Linked DNA regions of Homo sapiens: region 1 is linked to region 2. Evidence: promoter capture Hi-C in 16 types of primary human blood cells and fetal thymus (Javierre and others, 2016). All regions are on one chromosome and are shown on one strand. Each heading gives the region's core, a stretch centred on a gene start or on the middle of the fragment in contact. The rest is flanking DNA. Distances are from core to core; before and after follow the strand shown. Region 1 overlaps FANCD2 (FA complementation group D2). Region 2 holds the start of IL17RC (interleukin 17 receptor C).

The links. Contacts are between HindIII fragments. The CHiCAGO score rates a contact against its expected background, and 5 or more counts as called.
Region 1: a fragment that was not itself captured here is called in contact with the fragment with the promoter of IL17RC in region 2 in 2 of 17 cell types (naive CD4 T cells and naive B cells); the score reaches 5.5 in naive CD4 T cells.

Annotation. Positions count from the first base shown.
Region 1 is chr3:10,029,605-10,036,161 of GRCh38, forward strand. FANCD2 (FA complementation group D2) reads left to right here. Exons shown (of 44, transcript NM_001018115.3): 3 at 3,228-3,368; 4 at 4,865-4,932; 5 at 5,091-5,194; 6 at 5,569-5,629. Among named protein-coding and RNA genes, the nearest start is that of FANCD2, 6.4 kb to the left of the region's middle. The HindIII fragment of the contact is 2,031 bases long and covers 3,312-5,342 here.
Region 2 is chr3:9,915,848-9,922,208 of GRCh38, forward strand. It overlaps IL17RC (interleukin 17 receptor C), which reads left to right and starts at 1,251. Exons shown (of 19, transcript NM_153460.4): 1 at 1,251-1,573; 2 at 1,866-1,887; 3 at 2,076-2,228; 4 at 2,488-2,562; 5 at 2,653-2,762; 6 at 4,644-4,755; 7 at 5,078-5,122. The coding sequence starts at 1,469. IL17RE (interleukin 17 receptor E) reads left to right here. Exons shown (of 16, transcript NM_153480.2): 16 at 1-550. It also overlaps the pseudogene RNU6-882P. RefSeq lists enhancers at 504-1,043, 973-1,162. The HindIII fragment of the contact is 19,830 bases long and covers 1-6,361 here.

The DNA.
Region 1 (6,557 bases), core at 3,077-5,576, 120 kb after region 2:
TTTTTGGGAACAGGTGGTGTTCGGTTACATAAATAAGTTCTCTAGTGGTGATTTCTGAAATTTTGGTGCACCTGTCACCCGAAAAGTGTATGGTGTACCCAATGTGTATTTTTTCAATCCCTAACCCCCCTTCCACCCTTTCTCTTGAGTATCCAAAGTCCATTATATCATTCTTGTTGTTGTTGTTGTTGTTGTTTGAGACGGAGTCTCACTCTGTCACCCAGGCTGGAGTGCAGTGGCACAATCTCGGCTCACTGCAACCTCCACCTCCCAGGTTCAAGCGATTTTCCAGCCTCAGTCTCCCGAGTAGCTGGGATTACAGGCGCCAGCCACCATGCCCGGCTGATTTTTTTGTATCTTTAGTAGAGACGGGGTTTCACCATGCTGGCCAGGGGCTGTCTGGAACTCCTGACCTCAAGTGATCCATCCATCTCGGCCTCCCAAAGTGCAAGGATTACAGGCTTGAGCCACCACGCCTGGCCCATTATATCATTTTTTTTTTTTTTTTTGAGATGGAGTTTGGCTCTTGTTGCCCAGTCTGGAGTGCAGTGGCACAATCTTGGCTCACTGCAACCTCCGCCTCCCGGGTTCAAGCGATTCTCCTGGCTCAGCCGCCCAAGTAGCTGGGATTACATGTACATGCCATCATGCCTGGCTAATTTTTGTATTTTTAGTAGAGAAGGGGTTTCACCGTGTTAGTCAGGCTGGTCTCAAACTCCTGACCTCCGGTAATCCACCCACCTCAGCCTCCCAAAGTGCTGGGATATCGGACGTGAGCCACCATGCCTGGCCTCATTATGTCATTCTTAATGCCTTTGCATTCTCATAGCTTAGCTTCTACTGACTTGTGGATTGAAGAGTTATTTCTTACTAGGTTATTGGAAGTTAAGTCTGATTCTTGGTCAATTCAACCGAAATAGATGAAAATGCTTGCTGAACAGTGATTATAATGATAAAAATTGTGAGTCCAAAACCATGTAAGGAATAGGCTTGATTTAGAAACGGAAACTGTGGGCCGGGCACAGTGGCTCACACCTGTAATCCCAGCACTTTGGGAGGCCAAGGCGGGCAGATCACCTGAGGTCAGGAGTTCAAGATCAGCCTGGCCAACATAGTGAAACCCCATCTCTACTAAAAATACAAAAATTAGCTGGGCGTGGTGTCACGTGTCTGTAATCTCAGCTACTCGGGAGGCTGAGGCAGGGGAATTGCTTGAACCCCGGAGGTGGAGGTTGCAGTGAGCTGAGATCACGCCACTGCCCTTCAGCCGGGGCAACAGAGCAAGACTCTTATCTCAAAAAAAAAAGGAAGTTGTGAAGCTCCAATGGTTGATTAGTAATGGGGTTCTAGAATTAGAATATAGAGAAATTGGTAGAAAATTTGAAACTGAAGAGGAATAATATAGGAAATTACTGAAAGTAAATGTTATACTTTGGAAATACTGTTCTCCAAAAGAGAAGAGACTTCTGAATTAAGTTTATTAGAAGGGATTTGGGTTCTCTTGGTCAGTAATGAACAAACTGAAACTTTCATTCTGGTTGTGTTTTACATTTCATTCAGGAAGGTAGTGGTCTTTGTCTCATTCTGATTAAGGCTTTATTAGAAAGAGGGAAAGGAGGCCAGGCACGGTGGCTCACGCCTGTAATCCCAGCACTTTGGGTGGCCAAGGCGGGCAGATCACGAGGTCAGGAGATTGAGACCATCTTGGCTAACATGGTGAAACCCCGTCTCTACTAAAAATACAAAAAATTAGCCGGGCGTGGTGGTGTGCACCTGTAGTCCCAGCTACTGGGAGGCTGAGGCAGGAGAATGGCATGAACCCGGGAGGCGGAGCTTGCAGTGAGCCAAGATCGCGCCACTGCACTCCAGCCTGGGCGACAGAGCAAGACTCCATTTCAAAAAAAAAAAAAAAAGAAAGAGGGAGAGGAATTGAAGAAGGAAAAAACAAAATGGCATCATTAAGGGAGAAGAGTAAATTTTAAACTTGGCTTCAAGTACCTGTTTGTTTCTTGTTTCTTATTTCTTTTTATGGGTTGAAAGTCTTGGGATTAAACCTATCTGAGCATTGTAGTCAAAGATATGATACAAAGAACCTTCCCCATTCTGTCTACCCTTTATTCAGATCATTGAGTCTCAAATTTGGTGTGTATCAGGATTATTATCTGAAGAACATAAAAAATTCGGATTCCTAGGTCCCATTCCCAAGATTTTGACTCAGTAACTCTGGTATATGGCATGGAATATGCCTTTTTTTTCCTTTGAGACAGAGTGTCACTCTGTTGCTCAGGCAGGAGTGAAGTGGCGCGATCTGGGCTCACTGCAACCTCTGCCTCCCGGGTTCAAGTGATTCTCCTCCTCAGCCTCCCGAGTAGTTGGTATTACAGGCGCACGCCACCACACCCAGTTAATTTTGTATTTTTAGTAGAGATGGGGTTTCACCACGTTAGCCAGGCTGGTCTTGAACTCCTGACCTCAGGTAATCAGCCTGCCTCGGCCTCCCAAAGTGCTGGGATTACAGGCGTGAGCCACTGTGCTGGGTCGGAAATATGCATTTTAATAAGCTTCCCAGGGATTCCAGTACAGTGGTTTGCAGGCAACAGCTTGAGAGACACTGGCTAGTTTAGTATTTGGGTGGAAAACATTTCTGTGGGTTATTCTTGTTAGGCACTTATTTGTTTGAATTTATTTTTTTAGAGATGGGGATTTCACTCTGTCACCCAGGCTGGAGTGCAGTGGTAATATCATAGCTCACTATAGCCTCAACCTCCTGGGCTCAAGTTATTCTTCCGCCTTAGCCTCCGAAGTAGCTGGGACTACAGGTGTGCGTCTCCTCACCTAACTAGTTTGTGTGTGGAGGGGGGGAATGGGGGTGAAGGGGGGGAGATGGGGGGGTGGTCTCACTTTGTTGCCCAGGCTGGTCTTGAACTCCTGGCTTCAAGTGATCCTCCTGCCTTGGCCTCCTAATTTGCTGGGATTACCACATGAGCCACCTTGCCTGGCCAGAAATGGCACATTTTGAATTCTTCAAATGAAAATAGGTGAAAATAATTCTATTTGTTTGTTTTGGAAGCCACTATTGCTGAAGACAGTTTATTTCACTACAGCATCAATCCTAGTATAATTTTTAAGGACACATCAGTTTTCCTCTCATGATTATTATTCCTGGGTTTAAGTTTTAATTTTTCCTTTACTATTTGCCATATTCTTGAAAATTTTTCTATTTTCAGAAACCAGGAAGCAACCACTTTCCAAAAAGACAAAGAAATCTCATATTGCTAATGAAGTTGAAGAAAATGACAGCATCTTTGTAAAGCTTCTTAAGATATCAGGAATTATTCTTAAAACGGGAGAGAGTCAGAATCAACTAGGTAATATTTTAATCTAATTTTATTCTCTGGGTTTAATGAAATAGTTCAGGACTGAATCATGGGTTTTCTAAATAGAGAGGCAATGAAGATTAGAAATCAGAGGGCCATCCATCTTGAGACAAAGTTGAAATTGCTTTTTAGAAAATGGTACAGTCAGGCCGGGCGCGGTGGCTCACGTTTATCATCCCAGCACTTTGGGAGGCTCGAGGCAGGCGGATTGCCTGAGCTCAGGAATTTGCGACCGGCCTGGGCAACACGTCTCTACTAAAATATAAAAAATTAGCCGGGCATGGTGGCATGTGCCTGTAGTCCCAGCTGCTTGGGCGCCTGAGTCAGGAGAATTGCTTGAACCCGGGAGGTGAAAGTTGCAGTGAGTCAAGATCGCACCACTGCACTCCAGCCTGGGCGACAAGAGTGAGACTCCATTTCCAAAAAACAAAAATGGAAAAAGAAAATGGTACAGTCTTTGGTCCTCATTACTATGTCTTAAGTAAAGCATTTCTCATCCTTTTATTAGAAAAAATATTATATATTATTTATTTTGTGTTTTCTTATGAAAAAATAAATATCCAGAAAGCAGCTGTATCAGTGTCAGAATAATTTCAGAAGAAAATTTATAAAGCCATATAAGATTCTGTTTTGGGGGAGCAGATTATTCTATCTTGCTAAGGTTATGGCAGGTCTTTTTTAGAACACTTAGTGGCTATCTGCTATCAAAGCTAAGTCTTTTTTTTTTTTTTTTTTTTGAGACGGAGTCTTGCTCTGTCGCCCAGGCTGGAGTGCAGTGGCGCGATCTCTGCTCACTGCAAGCTCCACCTCCCAGGTTCACACCATTCTGCCTCAGCTTCCCAAGTAGCTGGGACTACAGGCGCCCGCCACCATGCCTGACTAATTTTTTGTATTTTTAGTAGAGACGGAGTTTCACCGTGTTAGCCAGGATGGTCTTGATCTCCTGACCTTGTGATCCACCTGCCTCGGCCTCCCAAAGTGCTGGGATTACAGGCATGAGCCACCGCGCCCAGCCAAAGCTAAGTCTTTTATGTGGGTTTAGACACAACCCCATGACTCTGGGCTGGGCACAGTGGCTTATGCCTGTAATCCCAGCACTTGGGAGGCTGAGGAGGGTGGATCACGAGGTCAGGAAATCGAGACCATCCTGGCTAACACAGTGAAACCCTGTCTCTACTAAAAATACAAAAAACGAAACAAAACAAAAAAAAACGTGTCTGTAGTCCCAGCTACTTGGGGGGGCTGAGGCAGGAGAATCATTTGAACCCAGGAGGCGGAAGTTCCTGTGAGCTGAGATCACGCCACTGCACTCCAGCCTAGGCAACAGAACAAAACTCCATCTCAAAAAAAAAAAAAAAAAAAAAGATTTGTCTCTGAAATTAGGTTGAAAATATTTTTATTGGTTTCATCAGGCAAGAAACTTGGGTTTTTAGAGAAGGAAAACTATGGTAGGAAACTGGTGACCAGCTCTTCTTTTTTCTGCATAGCTGTGGATCAAATAGCTTTCCAAAAGAAGCTCTTTCAGACCCTGAGGAGACACCCTTCCTATCCCAAAGTATGTATTTTTCCCCTGGTATTTTTGCTTGTGCCAGCATAACTCTAGAATTTGGAATTTAAGGACACTGGTATAAAGTTGAGTGGGCTAGAATGATTTTTAACAGCAAATATTAAACTAAAAATTTTATTCTTTTTTATTTTTTAAATCTCCTTAAGATAATAGAAGAATTTGTTAGTGGCCTGGAGTCTTACATTGAGGATGAAGACAGTTTCAGGAACTGCCTTTTGTCTTGTGAGCGTCTGCAGGATGAGGAAGCCAGGTGTGGAGAGGAGGCATGGAATCTTGCTGAAATTCAGTCTGTTTTGCCAACTTCATGGGGCTGGGGAGGGAGAGCACAGTTGTTTCAAATTTCATTTTTGGTGTAAGCTCTGTTTTCCTCAGAGTTTAAACTAAGTTTAAAATTCCTAAGCTTGTGGTTATGAGCCTAACAATCAGTGTTTTACCTATGCTGACAGAATTTCAAATCTCTACCTCTCCCTTGCAAAGAGCCATCTGCTCATTTCTGTATTTCTTGTCTAACAGGGTAGTTCCTCTTTAAATATTATGTATTTAACCAATTTTATTGAGAAAAGATGATAAAAGCATTAAAACAAGGAAAGCAAAGTGGAAAACAGATTTCTTTTTTTTTTACAGTATGGGTGCATCTTATTCTAAGAGTCTCATCAAACTGCTTCTGGGGATTGACATACTGCAGGTAAGACTGTCACTTTTTCTGTGAACATTTGATGGAAGAGGTTTGTGGTGTATGCTCAAGTCTAAATAGCGGGAACACAGGATAGAGTAGGGTTAATTGGAGAATTTGGGTTTGTAGCAGCTTTAGCACAGCCCTGTTGCTGTGATGGGTTTGGTAGGGTAATGTCTGTGTTTTAAAACTGTGCTTATTAGCCTAATACATCTGGCGGCCCCATTTATTCTCTCTGCATCTGATTCCTGTTCTTAAAGCTGCATCCTGTGTATCTCTGAGTATCTGGTAATCTTTATCATATTCATATCTACATTATCTCCCATTTAGCTTTTTAGATGCTTATGTAACTTAATTTTGTCCTTTTCCTCCTCCTCGTCTCTTTTATTAAGTAGACAATACATTGATATGATTTAAATATCTCAAGTTATACAAATGTATATAGAGCAGAAAACTTCCCTCCACCCCATTCTCCATTTTTCCTCTTCTCCCCTACTGTTAATCTTTTCACACTCTTAAACTCTTCCTTTTCACTGGAAATCTTGAAGATAATTTAGTTATTTTAAGTCTAAGAGCTCCCTTGTTCCTCCTGAGAGCTCCCCTTGCAAGTTATTTGATAATCTTTTAAAGTTTGCATTTTGTGGATTAACAGTTATTGTATTTAATAATATTTTAATTATCTGATTATTTTAACGTTGCCTTGATAATCATTTTCAGTTTTTCAGAAGACAAATTAAGTCTTTGTATTCCAATAGCATATTCTAAAAATGAAGACATATTCGTGTGGATATCCTTGTAATAAGATATCAACTTTAGCAAAGTGTTTATTCCAGGAGCTCTAGTTGGAAAGAGAATTATACATTTCTTTTTTTTTTTTTTTTTTTGAGTCAGAGTCTCCTTTGTCACCCAGGCTGGAGTGGAGTGGTGCAATCTCGGCTCA
Region 2 (6,361 bases), core at 1-2,500:
GCAACGGACACTGGCTGGAACCCCGGAATGAGCCTTCGACCCTGAAATCCTTGGGGTGCCTCGAGGACGACTGGCCGAAAAGCCGCATTCCCTGCCTCACAGGCCGGAAGTCCCAGCCCAGTCCCCGCGCGCGTCCCTCTTCCTCCTCATACTTTCCCTTGACTGAGAGCTCCTCTAACCCCTGTTCTGATGGGGGAGGGCGGTCTTCCCACTTCCTCTCCAGAACTCCAGAAAGAGCAGTGTGCTTATGCTTCAGTCCAGGCTGGAGAGGTTGGGGCCGGGGTAGGGAGGCAGGAGCCATGTCAGTTCTGAAGGAGGGTGAGGCGGTGGGGGATTGCAGGGGGCGGCTGAGAGAAAACCTCCTTGGGGGCCAGGGATTCCCTTTCCCACTCTGAGGCTCTGGCCAGAGGGAGAGAGGACTCTGGACCTAGGAAAAGAGGCTTTTGGCTCCAGGTGGTCAGGACAGTGGGGGTTGGGGGTGGGGTGGGTGGGTGCTGGCGGTGGGGACCAAGATCCGGAAAGATGAATAAAGACAAACATGACAAACTAAGAAAACACAGTGTGCTTCTCTAGTGTGGCTGGGGAGCCTGCCTGGTGGGGTATGTGTCAGTGTGCTGGCCCAAATCCTCTGTGTCCATACCGCATGGCATCCGTCACATTCTTACAAGCAATGCCTCCAAAAGCAAAGGAGGATGGGGCAATCTCCTTGATCCCCCCCAGTGATTCTTACAAGAGGAGAGGAAAACAGAGGCTTCGCCAGATGGTGTGTCCATCATCACACAGCCGGCCCACAGCAACAGCACAGATGGGACCCCTGTCTGCCAGGCTCTGGGGTCCTGGGTTCCTTCTACTCCCCATACCGCATTTGAGCCAGGCAGTGGTGAAAAGCCCACTTTCTGGTGCCTTTTGTCCGTGCTTTTAGAGCTCCTGTCCCACAAAGGGTTACCGAGGCCCAAAGAGTGTCTGAAGGGACCGAGTGTGCCTAGTAAGGGGAGACTTAGTGGGCCCAGGACTCCAGGGCTGTGTCCTCCTTAGGGCTCCGGGGGTGAGTAAGAGCTCCCTTACTCAGCCGTGATGCATTCGCTGTCTTCTTCAGGGGCCCCTCCCAGCCAGGTGTCAGCAGAGGGAGAGGAGAGCCAAAGAAGGAGGAGGTGCGGCCACCACCCTAGTCCAAGGCTGCTGGCTCCCAAGCCTGGTGTTGGTGGGAGGGACAGAGAGGGGCGGGAACAGCCAGCAGCCTGCCGGGAGCCAAAACGAAAGCACTCCGTGCTGGAAGTAGGAGGAGAGTCAGGACTCCCAGGACAGAGAGTGCACAAACTACCCAGCACAGCCCCCTCCGCCCCCTCTGGAGGCTGAAGAGGGATTCCAGCCCCTGCCACCCACAGACACGGGCTGACTGGGGTGTCTGCCCCCCTTGGGGGGGGGCAGCACAGGGCCTCAGGCCTGGGTGCCACCTGGCACCTAGAAGATGCCTGTGCCCTGGTTCTTGCTGTCCTTGGCACTGGGCCGAAGCCCAGTGGTCCTTTCTCTGGAGAGGCTTGTGGGGCCTCAGGACGCTACCCACTGCTCTCCGGTGAGTCTGGAACCCTGGGGAGACGAGGAAAGGCTCAGGGTTCAGTTTTTGGCTCAGCAAAGCCTTAGCCTGGCTCCTGTCACTGCTGCCACTGCCAGAACTGCCCTGTCTGGTCTGTCTGGTGCTGATGGTAGAAGAGAAGAACGGGGAAGGGGCAAGAGCTGGGTCTGTCTTTCTCTGGGAGGGTCTGGGAATACGGAGCCCCAGAAAAAGGTAGGTGGAGGTCTTAGGCAGAGAACAGTGCCTAGATGGTGGGGGCACAAATTCTGACTCTCCTTTCTTTCCTTCCCAGGGCCTCTCCTGCCGCCTCTGGGGTAAGTATCCCTACTTTTAAAAAGAATTTCCCAGGTTGGCCGAAGGGAGCAGAGCTGTCCCAGGCCCATGCCCTCCATGCCCACCTCAGCCTAGGACAGCCAAGTTCTTTGGCTCTCTGGGTATGTCAGGTGCCACCAAATTCTGGGCTTGGAACAGCTTCAGCTCCCACCCGCTCCTCCACACACAGACAGTGACATACTCTGCCTGCCTGGGGACATCGTGCCTGCTCCGGGCCCCGTGCTGGCGCCTACGCACCTGCAGACAGAGCTGGTGCTGAGGTGCCAGAAGGAGACCGACTGTGACCTCTGTCTGCGTGTGGCTGTCCACTTGGCCGTGCATGGTGAGCAAGTCATCCTGTGACAGTGCATGTGTACACGTGAGTGTGTCTGGGGTGGGCATGAGGGCCAGGGGATCTCTCAAGCAGTGCTAGGCATCCTCAGTGTTCTCCTGGAGGACACCAGCAGAAGGACCCCCAGGCCAGTGTGGTCTCCCCAGCCCCTGCTTCCCAGCACTGGGCTTTCCAGAAGGAAGCCAACGCCAAAGCCAGCCAGCCCAGAGCAGGGGGCCTCACCCAGGGCCTTGCTCTTGGGTCCTTCTAGGGCACTGGGAAGAGCCTGAAGATGAGGAAAAGTTTGGAGGAGCAGCTGACTCAGGGGTGGAGGAGCCTAGGAATGGTGAGGAGAACCTGGCTGGCCCAACTGCCCCATGCCAAGGCCTGGCCTGCCGCTCCTGGGCCTGACTGACCCCTGCCCTGTTGCCCACAGCCTCTCTCCAGGCCCAAGTCGTGCTCTCCTTCCAGGCCTACCCTACTGCCCGCTGCGTCCTGCTGGAGGTGCAAGTGCCTGCTGCCCTTGTGCAGTTTGGTCAGTCTGTGGTATGCAAAATAATAATAATCACCTTCTAAACCTAAAATCTATAAAACTTTTTCACATGCATTATCTCTTTGAGGATTACAAAAGAATTAAATTTATTGAAACCCTTCAGTACCAGGCATTACAGCCAGTGTTTTACAGGTATCAACTTATTTAATTCTCACAACAGCCATGTGAGGTGGGACTATTCTTTTGATTCTGATCAGCGCTGTGGGCAAGTCCCTTCAGCCTGTTATGCCTCAGCTTTTATGTCTGTAAAATGGGGATGAGAATAGTTCTACTTCATATGCTTGACTGCGAGAAATCACCAAGCGTTTTTCAGGGTGCTTCTACTATTTTCCCCTCCTACCAGCAGTGTATGGGAGTCCTAGTTGCTTCCCATCTTTGCCAACACTTGATGGTGTAATTTTATTTTATTTTTAAATTAAATATATTTGAATTTTAAATATATGGGACCCTCCATGAATTTGCATGTCATCCTCAGGCACGGGCCTTGCTAATCTTTTCTGTATTGTTCCAGTTGTAGTATATGTGGTGCCAAAACAAGCATAAGTGTTGTAATTGTCATAATTTTTCTGCATATGTAGTGGTTTGCCATTGTGGTTTTAATTTGTATCTTCCAATGACTGATGAAGTTGAGCACTTTTTTCACATGCTTATTGGCTATTTGTGTAACTTCCTTGTGAAATATCTCTTAAAGTTTTTTTGTTTTTGTTTTTGTTTTTGTTTTTGCCACATAAAAAAACAATAGTTCTGGCCGGGCACAGTGGTTCACACCTGTAATCCCAGCACTTTGGGAGGCTGAGGCGGGCAGATCACGAAGTCAGGAGATTGAGACCATCCTGGCTAACACTGTGAAACCCTGCCTCCACTAAAAAAATACAAAAAATTAGCCAGGCATGGTGGTGGGCGCCTGTAGACCCAGCTACTCGGGAGGCAGAGGCAGGAGAATGGCGTGAACCCGGGAGGTGGAGCTTGCAGTGAGCCGAGATCGCGCCACTGCACTCCAGCCTGGGCGACAGAGCGAGATTCCGTCTCAAAAAAAAAGAATAGTCCCACCTCACATGACTGTTGTGAGAATTAAATTAAGTTGGTACCTGTAAAACACTGGATGTAATGCCTGGCACTGAATAATTTCAATAAATTTAATTCTTTTGTAATCCTCAAAACTACCTGATGAGGCATTATTAGTATCCTCATTTTCCAGATAGATAAAATGAGGCTTGGAGAGGGGAGGTCTGTGGGCTGGATGCACTTCTCTGTACTCTTGGACCAAAGAAAGAGTCCTACCATACATACCATGGTATACTTACCATGGTGTAAGTACCATGGTGCAGGGTGTTGGGGCTTCTCCCTGCCTTAGGAGGCCACATGTACCTGGAAGGTCTATTTCCACTGGGGTCAAATCACTCAAACCCTTTGACTTTCCCTCCAACCTCCAGCCCCCAGCCAATATCCTATCTGGAGAATTGTAGACTGGGAGAACATCTGCTTGGTCCATGTCACAAGCAGTTGTAAGGAACACTGAGGCACTGGGTTGAGTGTGAGAACCACTTCTGTGGGGAGGGGTGTGCCATATTGTGTTGGGGTGTCTCATCTCCTTAGCTTTGGCCAGGTGATCTAGCACAGCAGGGTGGGTGCAGGGATTTAAATGTCTAGGGCCTTTTCCCGCCCTGGTGACACTCTTACTGAGGACATTTGCTTTAGAATTGAGGCCCCTTGAAAGAAAGGTGAATAGTAGATTTCAGGCTATACAGTATAAATACAGTCATTAGTTGGGGGAGGAGGGCAGTGAGCAGAGTGGTCCCTGCAGATGATCCCACAGCCCTTGGCCTGGATTCTGAGCCCTGCACCGCCAGCCTTCCTCACCCCTCTCCTCACAGGGCTCTGTGGTATATGACTGCTTCGAGGCTGCCCTAGGGAGTGAGGTACGAATCTGGTCCTATACTCAGCCCAGGTACGAGAAGGAACTCAACCACACACAGCAGCTGCCTGGTAAGTGGACCCCCAAGTCCTGGCCCCCTAGCCTCTGTCCCCTCTGGCCATTCCCCCTCCTGATTTCACCCTCTTCTAGCTCCATCCACTCTCCGGCAGGGGTCTGAGCTGCTATCCTCCCCAGAGTCAGTCCCTCGGACCTTCTCTCTCTGGGTGATATGGCTTTCCAGCCCCTGGGGAAGGTTCTTTGAGCATTGGATAGATGTGGGTGGTATGTAGGGGATGGGGAGCCATTCCTAATGCCCCCCTGGGAGCCAAATTGCCCCCACTTCTTTCCTTGGCCCCCAGCCCCACTGGAGGCTCTTCTGTGATCTCTCCTCAGACTGCAGGGGGCTCGAAGTCTGGAACAGCATCCCGAGCTGCTGGGGTAGGGGCTAGGGCCAGTGGGCCGGGGGTAGGGAGGGGCAGGGTCTGGAGTATAAGAAACCCTTGGAGTCCACTTCAGATATGGGCTACCACATCTCAGAAGCTCACAGAACATATTCATTCATTCATTCATTCATTCATTTGTTCATAACACATTAATTGCAGTATCTGTGCTAAGCACTGGAAATAGAAAGATGAATCTTGGGTCAGGCTCAGTGGCTCATGCCTGTAATCCCAGAACTTTGGGAGGCCGAGGTAGAAGGATCACTTGAGCTCAAAAGTTCAAGACGAGCCTGGGCAACATGGCAAATCCCCGTCTCTACCAAAAATACAAAAATTAACAGGACATGGTGGTGTGCATTTGTGGTCCCAGCTACTCAGGAGGCTGAGGCAGGAGAATCACTTGAGCCTGGGAGGCAGGGGCTACAGTAAGCTGAGACTGCACCATTGCACACCAGCCTGGGTGACAGAGCAAGACTCCGTCTCAAAAAACAAAACAAAACAAAACAAAAACAAAAAACTTGAAATAAAAGCTAAGAAAGTCAAGGGTCTAACTTTTTTCCCACGTACTATTTGGATTTTGTTTTCGTTTTGTATTTTCTTTTTTATTGTGTATAACATACATACATAAAAGTATGTAAAGGGTACTGATTTTCTTTTTTTTTTTTTTTTTTGAGACAGAGTCTCGCTCTGTCGCTCAGGCTGGAGTGCAGTGGTGCAATCTCGGCTCACTGCAAGCTCCGCCTCCCAGGTTCACGCCATTCTCCTGCCTCAGCCTCCCGAGTAGCTGGGACTACAGGCACCCGCCACCACGCCTGGCTAATTTTTTTTTTTTTTTAGTAGAGACAGGGTTTCACCGTGTTAGCCAGGATGGTCTTGATCTCCTGACCTTGTGATCCGCCTGCCTCAGCCTCCCAAAGTGCTGGGATTACAGGCGTGAGCCACCACGCCCAGCCAAAGGGTACTGATTTCCATGTCCAGTTCTTTTTTTTTTTTTTTTTTTTGGCGGAATCTTGCTCTGTCGCCTAGGCTGGACTGCAGTGGTGTGATCTCAGCTCACTGCAACCTCTGCCTTCTGGGTTCAAGCGATTCTCCTGCCTCAGCCTCCCAAGCAGCTGGGATTACAGACGTGCACCACCACGCACAGCTAATTTTTGTATTTTTAGTAGACATGGAGTTTCACCATGCTGGCCAGGCTGGTCTTGAACTCCTGACCTCGTGATCCTCCCACCTCGGCCTC